Regions from separate parts of the Homo sapiens genome. Here region 1 is linked to region 2. Evidence: promoter capture Hi-C in 16 types of primary human blood cells and fetal thymus (Javierre and others, 2016). All regions are on one chromosome and are shown on one strand. Each heading gives the region's core, a stretch centred on a gene start or on the middle of the fragment in contact. The rest is flanking DNA. Distances are from core to core; before and after follow the strand shown.

Evidence for each region. The method cuts DNA at HindIII sites, captures the fragments that hold promoters and counts their contacts. A CHiCAGO score of 5 or more calls a contact.
Region 1: a fragment that was not itself captured here is called in contact with the fragment with the promoter of PABIR1 in region 2 in 3 of 17 cell types (naive B cells, neutrophils and total B cells); the score reaches 6.5 in naive B cells.

Annotation. Positions count from the first base shown.
Region 1 is chr9:68,822,722-68,825,715 of GRCh38, forward strand. All of the region lies in intron 4 of PIP5K1B (phosphatidylinositol-4-phosphate 5-kinase type 1 beta), which reads left to right. Among named protein-coding and RNA genes, the nearest start is that of PABIR1, 44 kb to the left of the region's middle. RefSeq lists an enhancer at 2,794-2,994. The HindIII fragment of the contact is 3,268 bases long and covers 1-2,884 here.
Region 2 is chr9:68,778,595-68,781,688 of GRCh38, forward strand. It overlaps PABIR1 (PP2A Aalpha (PPP2R1A) and B55A (PPP2R2A) interacting phosphatase regulator 1), which reads left to right and starts at 1,471. Exons shown (of 1, transcript NM_138333.5): 1 at 1,471-3,094. The coding sequence starts at 1,571. The coding sequence ends at 2,434. The region is part of intron 2 of PIP5K1B (phosphatidylinositol-4-phosphate 5-kinase type 1 beta); the gene reads left to right. RefSeq lists silencers at 960-1,374, 1,492-1,731 and an enhancer at 1,379-2,207. The HindIII fragment of the contact is 10,001 bases long and covers 1-3,094 here.

The DNA of each region.
Region 1 (2,994 bases), core at 1-2,500, 44 kb after region 2:
TTGCTGTTTGGCACGTGAATATTATCAAAGGCCTTTCCTTCTCCCAAGCAGTTGTAAGTTACTATCTTAGTTTCCAGTTGCTGCTATAACTAATTACTGCAAATTTAGTGGCTTAGACAACATACATGCATTATCTTATAGTTCAGTGAGTCAGAAGCCTGACATGGGTCTCCCTGGGCTGAGATCCATGTGTTTGCAGAGCTGTATTCCTTCCTGGACACTCCAGGGGAGAGTCCACTTCCTTGTCTTTTCCGGCTTCTAGAGGCTCCCTGCGTGCCCTGTGTCATGGCTCCCTGCCATCTTCAAAGCCAGCAATGGCCGGTGGCGTCTTTCCCAGGCTGTATCACTCTGACACTTTAAAGGGCCTGTGTGATTGCATTGAGCCCTCCTAGGCTCACAGAAATATGGGAAAATATTAATAAAAATTAATATTCTTTATCTAAAAGGTCAGCTGATTAGCAACGTTAATTTCCTCTGCAACTTGAATTCATTTTTGCCTTAGAAGGTGACATATTCACAGGTCCCAAGGATTAGAGCATGGGAATCTTTGGGGGTCAATTCACCATAATATAGAATATTGAGTGAAGAGAGTTGTTTGAAGACCCTTCTTATTCCTAAGAAGAAGGCTCCTGAGGGCATGCAGTGTTCTGTGTATAATATATGAATCCTTTAATGGACTCACTACTTTCCACCAACATTTAAAACATTTCCTACCTTTGTATTTTAAAACTTTTAAAATGTGAGATGCTCCTCTTCCCCACCTTTTCTAAGCCGCTCAGATTTTATGTCTTCAGCCCATTTCACAAAAAGTCTTTTTCCAGACTTCCTAATGTATCTTAACTTACCAGTCTTTGATAAATTCTCGACTCCCAGCTACCAAGCTAATGTTCAAACACGTTACTGGGTAAAATATGTTCCCAAGCACCTCTACTCCTGATTATAAATTGACTATACATTTTAGCTTTTCAAAGTTCTTGCTATTTTGCCCTCTTAAGAGTAGGAGGTTTGTGTATTGAAGGTTTATTATTTCTTAATTTTTCCTTTTATACTTTGATGGACAGCCTGCAAGACGTTTAGTCATAAAGTACATGAGCTATGGGCTCTGACCACATATTCAGGTCATGGAACTAGCATGATGTATTTTCTATTCCATTTTCATATGGGAGAATGTGCCCTTTTTCCTGGCATATCTTCTTTATCTGATTTTTCCACTCAGCCAAACCTTGAAATACAAACTGGGAGGTTGTCATTCAAAGTGATGGTGTGGTTGGAAAAGAGTTGGGTAAAGATTCAAGAGCTCAGAAGTGCCGCAGTATATTTTATAAAATTTGTACATTGGGCCAGAGGCAACAATACACTATTATTTATTTTTAGACACAAGTGAAAAACCAAATCCTGTCTCGTTTACCCAAGATTCCGTGTACATTCATTCAAGCATGGACCAACACAGAGATGATTACGTTGCTAGCCTGTTATTACTTCAGATCAGTTTCAGGTGGTATTCTCAATCAGCATCAAGATGCACTGAAATTCTTGACCAAATTCTGACTCACAGGAGATCCTTTGTCGCTGCAAAAGTTATAGAAAAAATGTGACCATGACATCTCAGAGTTTGCTAAGTGTACCCTGCCCAAGAATTTATTTAGTCAAGCAGGTTTTCAATAATTAGTATAGGTAATTCTATGATTAATGTCTCCAGTAGGATATTTAACTCAGCAATGTTTTTTAGGTTGTAAAAACTAAAAATCAAATTCTATGGTAGGAGAAATAAGGAAAGACACAGAAAACCTAAGGGGACCAGAAATTTTTTTTAATGAACAATTTTTTATGTGTAATAATATCAGGATCTTATTAATGATTTCTGGTTTTAAAAAGTATAAGCAATGGAAGGAGATGTACGTAGCCTCTCTTAAAAAGCACCAAGAAGACCAGCACAGCACTTAGAACTTCAGCCCTTAATAAATATGGTATTGATATGAATAGCAAGAAGAAGGAATCGCTTAGAGAGAGTGTTGTTTTACTGGCAGGTAAAAGCTCAGCTGAATTATTCGGTTTAGTTCTCTGATCTTCAAACTAGAGAAGGTGTTCATGGTGGACTTAGGAGTTAGCTATTGCAAATGTGTTTATCTCCAGGTCCAGATAAACCATTTCCCAGATGAAAGAACTTAAAGCTAGAATAGGAAAACCTCTGAATGTGAGCTTTAAATGAATTTCAGAATGGGAAAATTGTCAGAAAACAGGACATAAGCAAATATTATTCTTATTTTCAAAAATGAGGAAGAGTACATTCTGGAAACCAGATTATAAGTGAGACATTATTCCCCAGTATAATTTGAGCATTATTATTAAACATATGGTTTATACATATTTAGAGAAGAAACATATCTTTTACAAACCTGGAGAAATTCATAAAGATGTAGTTTATTTCAAACTAACTGCATTTCCTATTTTGAGAGAGTCATTAAATTACTCATAAAGAGTATGTTCAAATTTAATGAGTCTTGATTTAAAGGTGTCTAAAAGATTCGCTAGTCTCCTTTCAGACAAGGTGGATAAGTATGGGTTAAATATTATGTTTATTGTGTTTGTATCTGGTTGGACTGATGGTCTCGAAAACTGGCAATTTTGCTCCCTGTTCACTCGGTTTCCACCAGCATGATGCATGAGTTGGCCCTGGGTAGCTTACCATGTTCACCCATGACCTTAATGAAAGCATAAAAGCAGTGCTTTGCAAATGCAAATGACAAAAAAATTGTAAATGATAGCAAACAGACTACACAAGTGTTGTCAAGGCCACCATACATCTTATTCCCTTTACAAATACCTTAAATTTCTTTCCCAGTCCTGAAGCCCTGATCATAAGGTATGCACAGATTTACTAAGAAGCTTTGATGACCCATTGTGTTTTTGCATTGACTGAAGCCAGTCCATGGATCCCAGGTTAAGGCCCCTGGTCCTTTATGCTAGGAGTGAGAAATATACCACAGGAGTTTA
Region 2 (3,094 bases), core at 221-2,720:
CAAGAATCTTATCTGTACTGTTGCCATAGGTCCTGAATTCATCCTTCTGCCTCCACTCTGGTCTTCTTTCAGCCTGTTTTCCACAGAGCCTAAGTGATATTTAAAACATAAACCAGATAATATCAGTCCCCTGCTTAAAACCCTCCAGTGGCGTTTCATCATATTCAGAATGAGATCCAACTCTTACCCTCTCCTAACACTCCCGCTCTTATGCTTCAGCGGCACTGCCCTTTTTTCTTTTTCTGCTAACTCATCAAACTCATGGCTGCCTCCGGCCTTAGCACTTGCTATTCTCTCTGCTTGGAATACTCATTCCCCAGATGTCCACGTGACTTACTGCTTCTTGTCATTTAGATCTCAACTCTAATTGTCCCCTGACTTCTATCAGTAGTGCTCCATCACACCATCTTACTTTTCCTAAGGCTTACCACTATCTGAAAATAGCCTGCGTTTCTCTATTTTCCCCTCAGTAAGAATTAAAAGTTCATACTAGGGCCCATTTCCTAGCAGTGTTTGGCACATAGTAAGTATGCTGAAAAAAAAAAACCTTGACTGACTGAATAAATGAACAAATAAACTCACTTTTAATGAGATATCAAGGTTTTATATTAATTACATGAGCCAAGAATTGTGGTTTCATTTTTAAAATGTGAGGACCTACTGGTTTAATCCTTCATACTTCACACATATGCTTGTGCTGGAACTATGACTGTAAATCAATAGCAATACCATCCTCTGTTTTGGCTTCTTCCCCTAACCTAAATAGTTCTCAGATTTACTTTTCTCTCCATCTCCACTGCCACACTGTCACCTTAGTGCAAATGACCATCCTCTCTGGCCTTTTTTCTGTAAGGTTTTAATCTCCCAATATGTATTCTCCAGACTGCAGGCCAGTGAGCTTTTCAGTTGCTGTTACACCCATGCTTGAAAACCCTTTAAGTTTTCATTGTTCTCAAGATAAAGACCAGAATGTGGTCTGGTCCACCACCTCACGTCAGGCCAGCCCTCACTCTCCACTCCAGGCCACACTTTCTCCTCCCCTCCTGGTTCCCGCCTGCCAACTGGCTGGGTAGCCGTTGCTTCCCGCTTCCTGCAAAGTTCTACATCGCACCCATTTCGCCCACTTCTTCAGATTTCAGGAGATTGTTCCTTCCTCGAGGAAGCCCTCCCTGATTAGGCCAAGCGCCACTCCACGTCATACAGCCCCACATCACCATGGGCCTCTCTTTCAGGGCTTTGTTTTATGAGTATGCAATCCAGAATATGACAATCTTATTGACATGCGTCAACGCGAGCTTGCGCTCAATAGCTATTTGCCGAAGGAATATACGGACTAGCGGCCCGACCACTCCTCGCCCCTCCCCTACCACTGCCGCGCACATATTACGCATTAAGCAGGCGCCGCGAGTACGGACATCGCGAGCGCCTGCGCGAAGGGCTACGCATGCGCAGAGGGGCCAGCCCGCTGACAGATTCTCGGTGGCGGCGGCAGCGGCGGCGGCCCTGGACTGCGGGGAATGGGAATCCTAGGTCCCTGACTGAGCACCTCCCCCGCCTCCCTGCCCCCGACATGGCTCAGGAGAAGATGGAGCTAGACCTGGAGCTGCCTCCGGGTACGGGCGGGAGCCCGGCGGAGGGCGGTGGCAGCGGCGGCGGCGGGGGCCTCAGGAGGTCTAACAGCGCCCCCCTGATCCACGGCCTCAGTGACACTTCGCCGGTGTTCCAGGCCGAGGCGCCGAGCGCCAGGCGGAACAGCACAACGTTCCCGAGCCGCCACGGCCTGCTGCTGCCGGCCTCCCCTGTCCGCATGCACAGCAGCCGCTTGCACCAGATCAAACAAGAAGAGGGCATGGACTTGATCAACCGAGAGACGGTCCACGAACGGGAGGTGCAGACCGCAATGCAGATAAGCCACTCCTGGGAGGAAAGTTTCAGCCTGAGTGACAACGACGTGGAGAAATCCGCCTCCCCCAAGCGCATCGATTTCATTCCTGTGTCACCAGCACCGTCACCCACTCGGGGAATTGGGAAGCAGTGTTTTTCGCCATCCTTGCAAAGTTTTGTAAGTAGCAACGGATTGCCTCCAAGCCCTATTCCCAGCCCAACGACCCGATTTACCACCCGGAGAAGCCAGAGCCCCATCAATTGCATTAGACCAAGTGTTCTTGGACCATTGAAAAGAAAATGTGAAATGGAAACTGAATATCAGCCAAAGAGATTTTTCCAGGGCATCACCAACATGCTTTCTTCTGACGTTGCACAGCTGTCAGATCCTGGTGTGTGTGTATCTTCGGATACCCTTGATGGAAACAGCAGCAGTGCCGGATCTTCTTGTAACTCACCAGCGAAAGTCAGCACTACCACCGACTCTCCTGTGTCACCTGCCCAAGCGGCTTCTCCATTTATTCCACTAGATGAACTTTCGTCTAAGTGATTCACTCATCCTGAGACTTTCTTTTTGCAGTGGAGAGAGAGAATAATCTAGTTGGGGCAAACACTGAACTTTGTCAATTAATTTGAGGCTATTTCCTATTTGACCCCTTTTCTTTTTTGAAATTCCCTGAAATGATGTTATTCTAGAGAACTTCTATGTCAGGTTCCTTTGGATACCCTTGAATTCAGTGTAGTAATATTTTCAGACGTTTCCCCAATAAGTGTGTTGAAGCATACATCTTTACGCTGCTAATATGTCTAAATACATATGTTATCCCTTGATTTTTTTAAATAACTGAGAGCTCTATTTATTTATGGGATTATTAAGTTCTGATGAAAATATAAATGTTGACTTAATCAGCATAGTAAACTGATGTTTAAAATTCCATACTTCATGCCCACACTAATTTTTAATGTTATTTTCAGTGGTTGCCGATTTCCATTTGATGAAGAACTATACAGCTTAAAAAAATACGTTAGTTATATCTATCTAGTGGTTGTCTGTTTTACCCAGGAATTCTTGGATATTTAGTTTTCTGGGTACTGAAGTGGATGGGAGGGGGAATGATTAAAGAACAAATTATAAAAGTTTGAACAAATCTTTTCAAATTAAGTATATAAAAGTAAACTTTTAAGAAAAACATTTTTAATGAGATTTTAA